Linked DNA regions of Homo sapiens: region 2 is linked to region 1. Evidence: promoter capture Hi-C in human tissues and cell types (Jung and others, 2019). All regions are on one chromosome and are shown on one strand. The core of a region is centred on a gene start or on the middle of the fragment in contact, and the rest is flanking DNA. Distances in the headings are between cores, read along the strand shown.

The links. The method cuts DNA at HindIII sites, captures the fragments that hold promoters and counts their contacts. A contact is called where the count stands out against the background at its distance.
Region 2: a fragment that was not itself captured here is called in contact with the fragment with the promoter of RASGRP4 in region 1 in 1 of the 25 tissues and cell types used here (bladder).

What each region holds. Positions count from the first base shown.
Region 1 is chr19:38,423,827-38,430,169 of GRCh38, forward strand. RASGRP4 (RAS guanyl releasing protein 4) reads right to left here and starts at 2,393. Exons shown (of 17, transcript NM_170604.3): 1 at 2,243-2,393. The coding sequence starts at 2,265. RefSeq lists silencers at 2,269-2,328, 5,850-6,050 and an enhancer at 3,221-3,735. The HindIII fragment of the contact is 24,204 bases long and covers 1-6,343 here.
Region 2 is chr19:38,700,763-38,706,951 of GRCh38, forward strand. It overlaps ACTN4 (actinin alpha 4), which reads left to right. Exons shown (of 21, transcript NM_004924.6): 3 at 240-359; 4 at 4,172-4,258; 5 at 5,282-5,369. LOC107985291 (a long non-coding RNA gene) reads right to left here. Exons shown (of 2, transcript XR_001753937.2): 2 at 1,162-1,402. Among named protein-coding and RNA genes, the nearest start is that of CAPN12, 41 kb to the right of the region's middle. RefSeq lists enhancers at 1,743-2,243, 3,853-4,622. The HindIII fragment of the contact is 6,256 bases long and covers 1-4,378 here.

The DNA.
Region 1 (6,343 bases), core at 1,143-3,642:
TCTTAGTCTCAAAATAATAATAATAATAATAGTAATAATAGTAATAATAATTCTCCCTCTGCCTGGTGCCTCCCAGAGGCTGCTGTTCCTGATAGGGGAAGAGGGTAATGGAGAGACAAGGATGGTGGGAGCAGGGAGGCTGCTGAATCCAAGCTTCAGACGAAAGTAGAATCCAGAAATTTTTGCCAGCTGTTGTGACTTCGTGTTAGTCACTTAATTTCTCTGGGGCTCAATTTCCTCGAAGGAAAAATGAGGATAGTCCTTGGACCTTCTCCAGGGATTTCTTTTTTCTTTCTTTCTTTCTTTTTTTGGAGACAGGGTCTCACTCTGTCACCCAGGCTGGAGTGCAGTGGTGCGATCTCAGCTCACTGCAACCTCCACCTCCCGGGTTCAAGCAATTCTCCTGCCTCAGCCTCCCAAGTAGTTGGGACTACAGGCACGTGCCACCACGCCGAGCTAATTTTTGTATTTTTAGTAGAAATGGGGTTTCACCATGTTGGCCAGGCTGGTTTCAAACTCCTGGGCCCAACTGATCCTCCCACCTTTGCCTCTGAAAGTGCTGGGATTACAGGTGTGAGCCATCACGCCAGGCTCCCACCTCTACCCTTTTTCAGACAGGGTCTTGCTCTGTCTCCCAGGCTGGAGCACAGTTGTGCAATCAAAGCTCATTGTAACCTTGAACTCCTGGACTCGAGTGATCCTCCTGCCTTAGTCTCCCAGGTAGCTGGGACTACAGGTGTGCACGACCATACCCAGCTAATTTTGTGTGTGTGTTTGGGTGTGTGTCAATGGGGGGGGGGGTCTCACTATATTTCTCAGGCTGGTCTAGAACTCCTGGCTTCAAGTTCTCCTTGTCTTATCCTCCCAAAGTGCTGGGATTAGAGGCATGAGCCATCGTTACTAGAAGGGACATTTTAAAGTATTATATATGTCCTAGGCTAAGGAAGGAGCATTCTAACTAAGTCAGCATTTCCCTAAGTGTGGGCACCCAGCTAGTACCAAAAGCATCACCTGGGAACTGGATATCAATACAGATTCTCAGGTCCCAACCCAGACCTACAAAATCAAACACTTTAAGGCTAAGGGTGGTGGCTCATGCCTCTAATCCCAGCACTTTGGGAGGCCGAGGTGGGTGGATCACGAGGTCAAGAGATCGAGACCATCCTGCCCAACATGGTGAAACCCCATCTCTACTAAAAATACAAAAAAGTAGCTGGGTGTGGTGGTGCACACCTGTAGTCCCAGCTACTTGGGAGGCTGAGGCAGGATGATCGCTTGAACCCGGGAGGCAGAGGTTGCAGTGAGCCAAGATTGTGCCACTGCACTCCAGCCTGGCGGCAGAGCGAGACTCCGTCTCAAAAAAAAAAAACAAAAAAAAAAAAACCAAACACTTTAAAGGTAAGCCCAGCAACCTGTATTTTACAAGCCCTCCAGACAGTTCTGAGGCTCGCTCCAGTTTGAGAACCACTGGTCTAGAGTGTCTCATTGAGTACTTACAGGCCTCTCCGAGGTAGAGGATATGATTGTTCTACTGACAGAAGAAAAACCCGAGACACAGAGCAGTTAAGTGACTTACCTAAGGTCACACAGCTAGGAAATTAGGCAGCCAGGAGTCTACCACTAAACTGCTGGGTGGGGAGGAAAGCCCTTTGCCCATCAGAGTGGTGCTGGGGGTGGCAGGAGGAGTTACCCAGGCTAGGGAGCCACCCACCATCTGCCTCTGTGGGGACAGAAGGGCCAGCTTGCCCAGGAGATGAAGCCCATTCCAGAACCGGCCGCACAGCCAGCCACTAGGCCCTGTCCTGCAGCCCCCTGTAGGGGTCTGGAACAGCCAGGAGTGGTTTAAGAGGCAGGGGAGTCGCCTTGCCCTGTGCCACACTCCCCTCTCCTGGGCCAGGCCCTGCAGGAGCCTGGAGTTTCCAGTCCACGGGGATGGGGAACCAGGAAGCCCCCAGGGAGGGCAGAGACACTCAGCCCAGGCCAGGGATGGAGGTGGGGTGATGAGGAGTGGAAAAGGGGCACGGAGCAGCTCAAACTCCAGGGACAACACGGTACAGATGCCACATACAAGCGACTGCAGCCGTAGCTGGCTCCAGACTCCCTGAAGCATCCACCTGGCCCCCCTGCGCCTGATCCCAAAGAAGTCAGGAATCCTGCCACCCTGGCGAGTGATCTCCCCAGCCCTCCCATGCAGAGGGAGGCCTCAGGGTGCTGCCGGGCTCCCTGGGGAGGGTCCTCTCACCTCTTACTGTCTTTTCTGTTCATGCTTCCCGCGTGGGGTGAGGAGGCCGGGGGTCTTGCAAGAGTAGGGCTCAGCTCCTCCCCTTGCCCAGGACTCCAGCTTCTCAGCCCCTAGGGAGCTGGGGCCTCCTCGGTGCTTGGGAAGGAAAGAGGAACTGCCCCTCCCCACCCACCCTCAGGCCAGGGGGAAGGAAGAGGCTGGGGAGAGACCGAAGGCCCCCCTCCCCCACACGGGGATCCCTTCTGCTGAGGTTTCCGGCATCGCTGGCTCTCCCACCCTCAAGCTCCCCGGCGGGCTCTCTATCTCCCCCATCTTTCGGTGTCGAGACCCGTCACTGTCATACTTCAATAAAAGAAGGGGCTTTTCTTTTTAAAGCATGACTGATATTTATGTAAAAACACACACACTCACTCAAAAAGATAAGTCTGTCTGTCTAGAAGGACATATTCATATATATAATTCATGAAGGTTTGAATGGAAACTCACAAGACATAGTATTTTGTATATTTCTTCATAGGCGTCTCTTATTCCTAGTTTAAGTGATACCATTTGTACCCTGGAAAACATTTTCACTTTCTGACTTTATTGTAACAAACCTCCACATAGCACCTACTGTGTACCACACACTGCTGTAAGGACTTTAAAAATATTAACTCATTTAATCCTCACACAATCCACTGTTACCTTAAAAAAAATTACATACCGGACCAGGCACGGGGGCTCACAGGGGCTCACGCCTGTCATCCAGCACTTTGGGAGGCCAAGGCAGGCGGATCGCTTGAGTCTAAGAGTTTGAGACCAGCTTGAACAACGTGACAAAACCCCGTCTCTACAAAAAATGTAAAACGTTAGGCCGGTGTGGTGGCTCACTCCTGCAATCCCAGCACTTTGGGAGGCCGAGGTGGGCGGATCACCTGAGGTTGGGAGTTTAAGACCAGCCTGAGCAACATGGAGAAACCCCGTCTCTACTAAAAATACAAAATTAGCCAGGCGTTGTGGCACATGCCTGTAATCCCAGCTACTCGGCAGGCTGAGGCAGGAGAATTGCTTGAACCCAGGAGGCGGAGGTTGCCGTGAGCCGAGATCGCGCCATTGCACTCCAGCCTGGGCAACAGGAGCGAAACTCTGTCTCAAAAAAAAAAAGTTAGCTGAGCGTAGTGATGCACACTTGTAGTCCCAGCTACTCAGGAGGCTGAGGCTAGAAGATTGCTTGAGCCCAAGGAGGTCGAGGCTGCAGTGAACCATGATGGTGCCACTGCACTTCAGTCTGCGTGGCAGAGCCAGACCCTGTCTCAAAAAACAAAAAACAAAAAAAAAAAACACACACACACATCAAAAAACATTAGAGATGGAGGTAAAGCCTTGGGGAAGCCCCTCCCCATCCCCTGCCTTTCTTAAGCAGGGTGTGACCAATATGACACGTTGTCGAGTTTCGTCCAAACTGCTGTCTGTGCGTTTAAGCACATCATATAAACATGTGCTCCTAGAAACAGACTTTTCTTTTGAGTGTGCATTTTTTTCTTTTTACCTAAATGTGTCATGCTCGACACTTTTTTTTAAATTGAAGTACAAAAAAGATCACGAATCATTAAGTATTTAGGTTGATGAAATGTCACCAACTGAGCAAACCTGTGTGACATTCATACAAATCCAGACACAGAACATTCTCACCCTCCACAAGCCCCCTGTCTTTCTTCCCAGCACGAATTCCCACAGATCCCCACTCGCCCGAAGTCTGGCGCAGTAGTTTTGTCTTGTTTTGAGCTGGATAAAAATGGACTCCTGTATTGAATCTGGGTTCTTTCTCTCCACGTCTTGTCTTTGCAGTTCTTCCATGTTATCATATTTGGTTATAATTTATTCCTTTTTTTGGCCGGGCGCGGTGGCTCACGCCTGTAATCCCAGCACTTTGGGAGGCTGAGATGGGCAGATCACTTGAGGTCAGGAGTTCGAGACCCGTCTGGCCAACATGGTGAAACTCCCATCTCTACTACAAATACAAAAATGAGCCAGGTGTGGTGGTGCGTGCCTGTAATCCCAGCTACTTGGGAGGCTGAGGCAGGAGAATCGCTTGAACCCGGGAGGAGGAGGTTGTAGCGAGCCGAGATTGCACCACTGCACTTCAGCTTGGGCGACAGAGCGAGACTCTGTCTCAAAATAATAATAATAATAATAATAATAATAATTCCATATAGTCTTTCATTATGTGACAATTCCATGACTTATATATATATATTTATTTATTTAGAGATAGGTGTTGTGGATAGTGACTAAGCGGGCTGGTGGCATGCTAACTTCTATTTTTTTTTTTTATTTTTGAGACAGAGTCCTGCTCTGTCGCCCAGTCTGGAGTGCAGTGGCGTGATCTCAGCTCACTGCAACCTCTGCGATTGAAGCGATTCTCCTGCCTCAGCCTCCCCAGTATCTGGGATCACAGGTGTGTGCCACCACACCCAGCTAATTTTTGTAGAGACGGGGTTTTGCCATATTGGCCAGGCTGGTCTTGAACTCCTGGTCTCAAATAATCCACCCGCCTCAGCCTCCCAAAGTGCTGGGGTTACAGGCGTGAGTCACAGCACTAAGTTCTATTTTTCATCAGTCTAGAGTCTGGTAATAACTAGACACTAAAACATTTTAAGTTAAGTGAGTTATCTATACAAGAGGACTATATGTCCTAGACTGTAAAAAAAAGACAAACTTATAGCTTCTCTGTTTTTTTTTTTTATTTTTATTTGGTCCTACCAACCTGACTCTTTTTTCTTAATTAAGACTCCACAGCAGGGTCTCCCTCTGTCACCAAGGTTGGAGTGCAGTGGCGAGATCCTAGCTCACTGCGGCCTCGGACTCCTGGGCTTAAGCCATCTTCCCACCTCAGCCTCCTGAGTGGCTAGGACTACAAGTGCACACCACTGTGCTCTGCTAATTTTTTTTTTATTATTTTCCTGTAGAAACAGGGTCTTACTTTGTTGCCTAGGCTGATCTCGAACTCCTAGGCTCAAGCAATCGTCCTTCCTATGCCTCCAAATTGCTGACTCTCCAGGCGTGAACCACTGTCCCCGGCCTCCGTGATTTATTGATCAATTTTCCTGTGATGGACATCTGAGTTGTTTCCAGGTTGGGGCTGCTGTGACTATTTGAGCATCTGACTTTTGATGAACATAGAGTGTACCATATTGTAGGGCAGTACCCAGGAGTGGAATAAATGGGTCATAGTAGTTACTGTGATTCTACCAAACATAGCATGTTAGCAATTCATTGAAATCGTTCTCTCAGAAGTATATTTTTCCACTTTTTTTTTCACTAAAAGAAAGAACCGTGGATGTATATTTTTTCCAATGCAGAACATTTAGACAGTCACTGAACTCGCCGTCTTTAGTTTTTCCATCACGCGATGTTACCATAGCTTCAGACTCTCTCTTCCTGCCCGTTTTCACCCTCTCTCCCCCTGGCCTCATGGTGTTCTGTCTGACTCTCTCAGACCATCTCCTGTAGCACCTGCATCTTGAATGTGACTTAACAATCCTGGCTGAGCAGAGACTTCGTAGTGTGGCAGTGTCTCCAGGCCCTGGGGACCCAGAAAAGCCTCAAGGAGGAGGTCAGAAATCCTGGCACTTGTTTCTACTGTACACAGGCAGCCTTAGTCCTCGGGCTGGCCAAGAATACCCACAATACCCGTGCTGATGACTACAAAGGAAGGGACTTCTGAATCAAACCACAGAAACTCCTAAGGCAGAAAAATGATGGACATGATAACATGCAAATACAGACTTTCTTCTTTTGTTGCTGTTCTTCTTTCTTTCTCTTTTAAATTTTAAAGATGGGGTCTTGCTATGTTGCCCAGGCTGGTCTCAAACTCCTGGGCTCAAGGGATCCTTTCACCTAGACCTCCCAAAGTGCTGAGATTACAGGCAGATTTTCTTTTAACGAAGACACCATGGGACAAATGTCAGATGACAGAAGGGGAAAAGGTGTTTGCAATATTTAAAAATCAATGAGATATTAATATCTAGAATATAGGTCAGGTGCAGTAGCTCATGCCTCTAATCCCAGCACTTTGAGAGGCTGAGGCGGGCAGATCACTTGAGATCAGGAGTTCGAGGC
Region 2 (6,189 bases), core at 1-2,500, 280 kb after region 1:
TGCCACAGCGGTCCCCAGAGACCCTGCCCACCCAGCTGTCCCATTGCTCCTGGGGAGGAGAGGGCACCCCTTAATAGCTGCACGGTGGTCTGATGGGTGGGGCCAGAGTGGCCTGGTGGGCCAGCAGAGGAACCTGCTTTTGGAGAACAGAGGAGACTCTAAAGCCTCTCTCCCTCTCGCCCTCTCTCCCTTTCTCTCTCTCTGTCTCGCCCCCTCTTTTCTCTTTGTGCACTTCTCAGGGGAGCGGTTACCTAAGCCGGAGCGGGGGAAGATGAGAGTGCACAAAATCAACAATGTGAACAAAGCGCTGGACTTTATTGCCAGCAAAGGCGTCAAGCTGGTCTCCATCGGGGCAGAAGGTGAGCTGGAGGTGGGGCAGCGAGGGTCCTGCTCGGTTTCTGACCTTTAGGCTCTGAAGCACAACATCTGCATCCTGAAGAGAAGTTTTGTTGGTGGCAGGGCGCTTGGGGCACTCAGAGCCCCAGTACATACTCAGCAGTGATCACAACAACTGCTCTTGATATGATGCTGGGCCCACAAGCTCCCCCAAACCCTTGGAAAAATCCGGTGGGCGCAGTCCAAATCTAGGAAGTGCAACCCACCCAACCACGGGGGCGACGGCTTCTGCAGGGGGAGGAATGGTTTTGACTCGGACTCAGGTCGCCCTCACTGGTTCTCCTTGTGCCAGGCTCAGCAGACAGTGACAAACATGTGCCATGGCCTCTCTCTGTACCAGGAACACCTTTCTCATTATGCCCTGCCCGGTATCAGAGAAGGACTGGAGGCCCCATGTCAGGCATTGGGACAGGGAGTGCACGGCCAAAGGTCAGTGCCTAGACTTTGCCCTGTGTGCATGGGCTTGGAGAATTTTGCCTCTGACCACCCCAGGATCCTCCTGGGCCCCACGTAGATAACCAGGACCACAGTCCACTACCTGCAGGCCCTCACTAGAGCAGCAGGCTCTCAGCAGGGGCCCCTGGGTTGAGCTCCCAGGCGCTTTTAGAGACAGGCGAGGCCTGATGGAGCCCCAGCAGCATGAGCTCGCAGTCCACTCATTAGTCAGAGTAAGATTTCTTCACCCTGACATCCATGTTGTCCCAGCTTCTAGAAAAACAAAGTAAACTAATTGCCGTTAATGACAGGGCTCTGAGAGTTTGGCCAAGACTCCGGGCCAGAATGTGTGTGCTGAGTTCCAAGGCTCTGCCCCGGCCCAGGACCTCTGCGATGAGGGGTGCCAAGCCTTGCATGCCACAGTCGAGGTGGTTGGTGTTTGTTTAAAAAAATCACAACCCAAAAATTCAGTCAGGCCCTGAGATTTTCTGTCCTTGCATGGGTCTTTCCTCCAGGCTCTGTTCCAGCCTTCTGCTTCTCACAGCTGCATTTATTTTGCTCAAATGCTAGTCTGTAAATACAGAAGGGGTTAGAGGAGAGACCCATGTCAGTCATCAGTTTTCATTTGGAGAAAAACTTGGTCTAAAAATGTTCTCTGTTCATGCCCAAATTGGTTCACTCCCAATCCCTGTGACTGTGGGGCCTTGGAACAAAGCCTAATGGAGGCGTTCCTGGGGCTCAAGGCACCTGAGAACCCCGCCCCACCCTGTCCCCCTGTCCTTCCACATGATTGGGCATTCGCGGGAGCATTGGCTTCCCGTGGGGGTGATGAGAGGGGCCGGAGGCACAGCTGCAGGTCAGAGAAGCAGCTGGTGGATGTGTCATGAGAAACGCCATCCTCCTCTCCTCACCGGAACTCCATAAGCCCTCCGTTACCAGCTGCACCTGTACTTGCTGAGCCGGGGAGCTGCGGCCTTGCCCAGCTCTGCAGGCCCGGCCCTCAGGAGGTGCACAGAATAGATTTCCTGAGGCTCGAGCTGCCTCGCTGCACTAAGGGGCAGGTGGTGCTGCTCAGTTTCTGGGTCTGGGGCTCTGAACCCTAGGACAGGGTGGACACTGGGTCCCTCCCCTGTCTCTGGGCAGCAGAATGAGCATATTTCCTCCTCTCAAAACCCGAAAGCTGTGGCTCATGGACACCCCCTTCCTCTGGGTGTGTCCCCGGGGGAAGGTGAGCCCCATCTTCTCTGTGACCTCTCCACCTGCTTCCAAGCAAGCCTGCCCTGGAGTATTCTGCTCAGAGGTCAGTGAGCAGGGTCTCCTGTGGTGTCCTGGGCCTCCAGCTCTGCAGTTAGCTTTGGAACTCACCCCTGTGCCCAGCCCTTCCCCGAGAGTGCTTGCAGCAGTGGCGCCCCTCTGTCTTCTTTGGAAGCCACTCCATCATGCCCCTTGCATATGGCGTGTTGACAAGTTGGGAGGACTGCCCTAGGCACGGCTGGCTGATGGACTCTGGGATGAGGCACTGCCTTCTCTCACCCAGCCGCAGACACACAGCTGTCCTGGGCCTTGCAGAGATGATTTTTCTCTTAAGTTACTGAGGCTGAAGAAGGTGTGGTCCAAGCCCTTCTTTTGAGAAGTTTCAGCAATTTTTTTTTTTTTTTTTTTGAGATGGAATCTCACTCTTGTCACCTAGGCTGGAGTGCAATGGTGCAATCTCAGCTCACTGCAACCTCTGCCTCCCGGGCTCAAGCAATTCTCCTGCCTCAGCCTCCAGAGTAGCTGGGATTACAAGCACCCGCCACCACGCCAGGCTAATTTTGTGTTTTTAGTAGAGACGGGGCTTCACCATCTTGGCCGGGCTGGTCTCGAACTCCTGACCTCAGGCGATCCACACCTGCCTCAGCCTCCCAAATTGCTGGGACTAAACAGGCGTGAGCCACCACAGCCGGCCGCAAATGTTTGTTTTTAGGTTAGTTCAGAAAGCGTGCAGTCTGGCCTCAGGCCCGTGCTCTCCCCTTCCTGACAACACAGCAGCCATGCTTGTTCCTCACTGGCCTTCCAGGCACTGGATCCAGTGGTGGTCAGAGCAGCCCCGCCCTCACGAGGGCAGGCAGACAGTGAACAAGTAAACAGCCCGACCAACATGTGATTTCACTAGTGATGCCTTGGGGCAGCACAGGGGCCAGGGAGAGGAACTGGGTGGCGGGTTGGGGAGCTCCTTGGGACGGGCAGTCAGGGAAGCCACCACGAGAGGTGACACAAGCAGAAGCTTACACGATGAGAAGGACCAGCCAGTTGAGGGTCGCAGGCTAGGGGCGTGCTTTGTGAGTGGACAGAGCGTATCAAAGCAAGAAAGAGCCTGGCTTGCCCAGAGGATGCAGCTAGAGAATTCCAGCAGGATGGCAGGGCCTGGGCCTTCAGGGCAAGCCCTTTCCCTGTGGGCCAGGCATGGTGGCTCACACCTGCAATCCCAGCACTTTGGGAGGCCAAGGCAGGAAGATCACTTGAGCAGGAGTTTGAGACCAGCTTGGGTAACATAATAAGACCCAGCCTCTACAAAAAGTTTAAAAACTAGCAAGATGTTGTGGCATGCGTCTGTGGTCCCAGCTACTCGGGAGACTGAGGCAGAAGGATTGCTTGAGCCCAGGCAGTCAAGGCTGCAGTGAGCTATGACTACACCATTGCACTCCAGCCAGCCAGACCCTGTCTCAAAAGAAGGAAACCAACCATGCTCGCTGCTGTGTCGATGTGGATTATGGGCGGGAAGGGTACATAGGAGGCAGCCGCATTGAGCTCTGGAGATGACAGTGGCTTGGTGGAGAGTGTCGGCAGTAGGATTGGAAGGAAGTGGACAGATTCACAATAAACAATAATGTAGTGCACATTTGCTGACTGCGAGATGAAAAAGACCACCTTTGCCCTGAGAGTGGGGGCCCGGGGTGCCCCCCTGTAGTCAGGAGGTACGCAGATTACGGCAGAAATGTACAGAGCACTGAGAGTTGAGAGAGGTGTGAACAGAGGCCACACGCCTGGGACCAGCCTCTTGGAGGAGCGGTTTTTTGAGTTGGGTCAGGAGAAGGAGCTGGCTGCGGGGCCAGGGACCCTTGTGGCCAGAAGCCTGCAGGCGCTCAGCAGCAGGAGGCTCTGGGACAGTGCTGCCTAGAGACTGTTCCCTGCATTTTCTCCTGAGGGAGGTGGAGGAGGACAGGCCTGGGAGATGCAACCAGGGGGTGGTTTGGAGCCTTTCTCTAGATGGGGCTGGAAGGCCACCTTCAGGTTGGGCGGAGGAGCCTCACTCTGGTTTTAACGACCTTCTGCCCTCTGCCCCCTTCCCTGTGTGCAGAGATTGTGGACGGCAACGCAAAGATGACCCTGGGAATGATCTGGACCATCATCCTTAGGTTCGCCATCCAGGACATCTCCGTGGAAGGTGACAGCCACCTGTACTGCCCCCGCTTCCCACCTGAGTCAGGGCGGGTTAGAGGAGAGCTGAAGTGTGATCTTCATGCTTCAAGCCTCTTCCTGTTTCCTTGGGGTCACTCACAGGGCCTGGCCCTTGCAGGGGTAGTCAGTGGGTGGCAGGTGAAGGGAGGCTCCTCCCAGCTGCCTGCCTCTTGGCTCCAGTGCCTTCCGAGTGCCTTTGCTCTCACAGCCTCATCTCAGTGGACCCTCACGCCACCCTCATGAGATGGGCTAGGATGGCTGGGCCCGTTTTACAGTCCAGGAACCCAAGTCCCAGAACAGACTAGTGAGAGAGTTGGGCCTGGGCCTGGTTCTCTGTCTGCTTGACATCCCCATCCTTGAAACTTGGCCCCCATGGACCCGTTATGAGCTCAGGCCGTCCAGGAATGGACAATTTCGCTTCCCTGCAAGCACCTGTGTGCACACAGGATGGGCAGAGCCACCTGGGCTAGCGTGCAGGGGCTCCCAGGTGCCAGGTCGCAGTGATGACTGGGAGAGATGTGCTTCCTGCCCTCGAAGGGCTCCCGGTCTGTGAGGACAGCCGAGCTATCCACGGGGAACAGAAGGGCCCCCTAGGCCTCTCTACAGCTGGTATTTCACCTTGTTCAAAAGAGGCCAAGGCCGGTATCAAGGGCCTGTCTGCAGTGTGTTCTGGTGGTGAAAGGCACAGGCTTGGTGGCCAGGCACATGGCACAGATTCAGGCCCTGACACCACCACCTCCTGGGGCAGCCCTGGTCAAGCGACTCTCCTCGGGGCCGTGAGGATTAAGCAGGGCCGTGTGTCCTGGCAGTTGGGCCTGGCAGCATCCGTCTGCATCCGGAATGGGAGTGGCTGTCCCGCTGCTATCACTGCTGCTGTTGTTAGGACAGATATCCTCTCCCCTTGGGTTTCGTTTGACCCCAGGCCTGAGCCGAAAGTCCCATCCAACTTGGGCTGAGTTCTGAGGGTTTATTTTTGAGCCAGTGCTCACTGTCTTTGTGTGTTTTGCAGAGACCTCGGCCAAGGAAGGGCTCCTTCTCTGGTGCCAGAGAAAGACAGCCCCGTATAAGAACGTCAATGTGCAGAACTTCCACATCAGGTAAGCGCCAGTCCTGGTCATCCTCTCCTTTCCTCTAGGAACCTGAGATCCTTCCTCCCACCTGCCCTGTTTGCTGTGTTTTTGTCGTGGTCTGTGAGATGCCAGCCCTCAGTCAGCCCCTCCCTGGCCACGGGCCCTACAAGCCCATGGGAAGGTCACCTGGTCCTCTCTGAGGAAGAGGAGGCAGTTTCCCAGCCATCCTGGCTGAAGGCAGTAAGGTCAGCCCTCTCGCCGGCCTAATAGAACGTTCTTCGTCCCCAGGCAAGGTGACTCTCAGAAGCAACAATAAAGCTTTTCATTTTTGAGACAGGGTCTTGTGCTGTCACCCAGACTGGAGGGCAGTGGTGTGATCACTCATCCCTGCTGCCTTGGCCTAGGCTCAAGTGATCCTCCTGTCTCAGCCTCCCAAGTAGCTGGGACTGCAGGTGCATGCAGCCACACCTGGCTAATTTTTAATTTTTATTTTTAGTAGGAACAGGGTCTCCCTATGTTGCCCAGGCTGGACTTGAACTCCTGAGCTCAAGCAGTCCTCCTACCCCGGCCTCCCAAAGTGCTGGGACTACAGATGTGAGCCACTGCCTGCCTCTGGCCTCTTCCTTTATTTTGACAGCTCAGGAGTGAATTGTTTTTAGAATTGCTAGTAAATTTAGTGTTGGGGAAAAATGTACTCTGTGGCTGCTAAGATGAACAAGCCTCAGCTCCACCATGAACCTGCTTCCCTCAGGGTGAGCGGGAGATGAGACATGTCCACCATCCCCGTAGCTGAGGCGAGCATGGGCACTGCCGCATGAGGTCCAGGGGGCGGCAAGAGGCAGGCCTG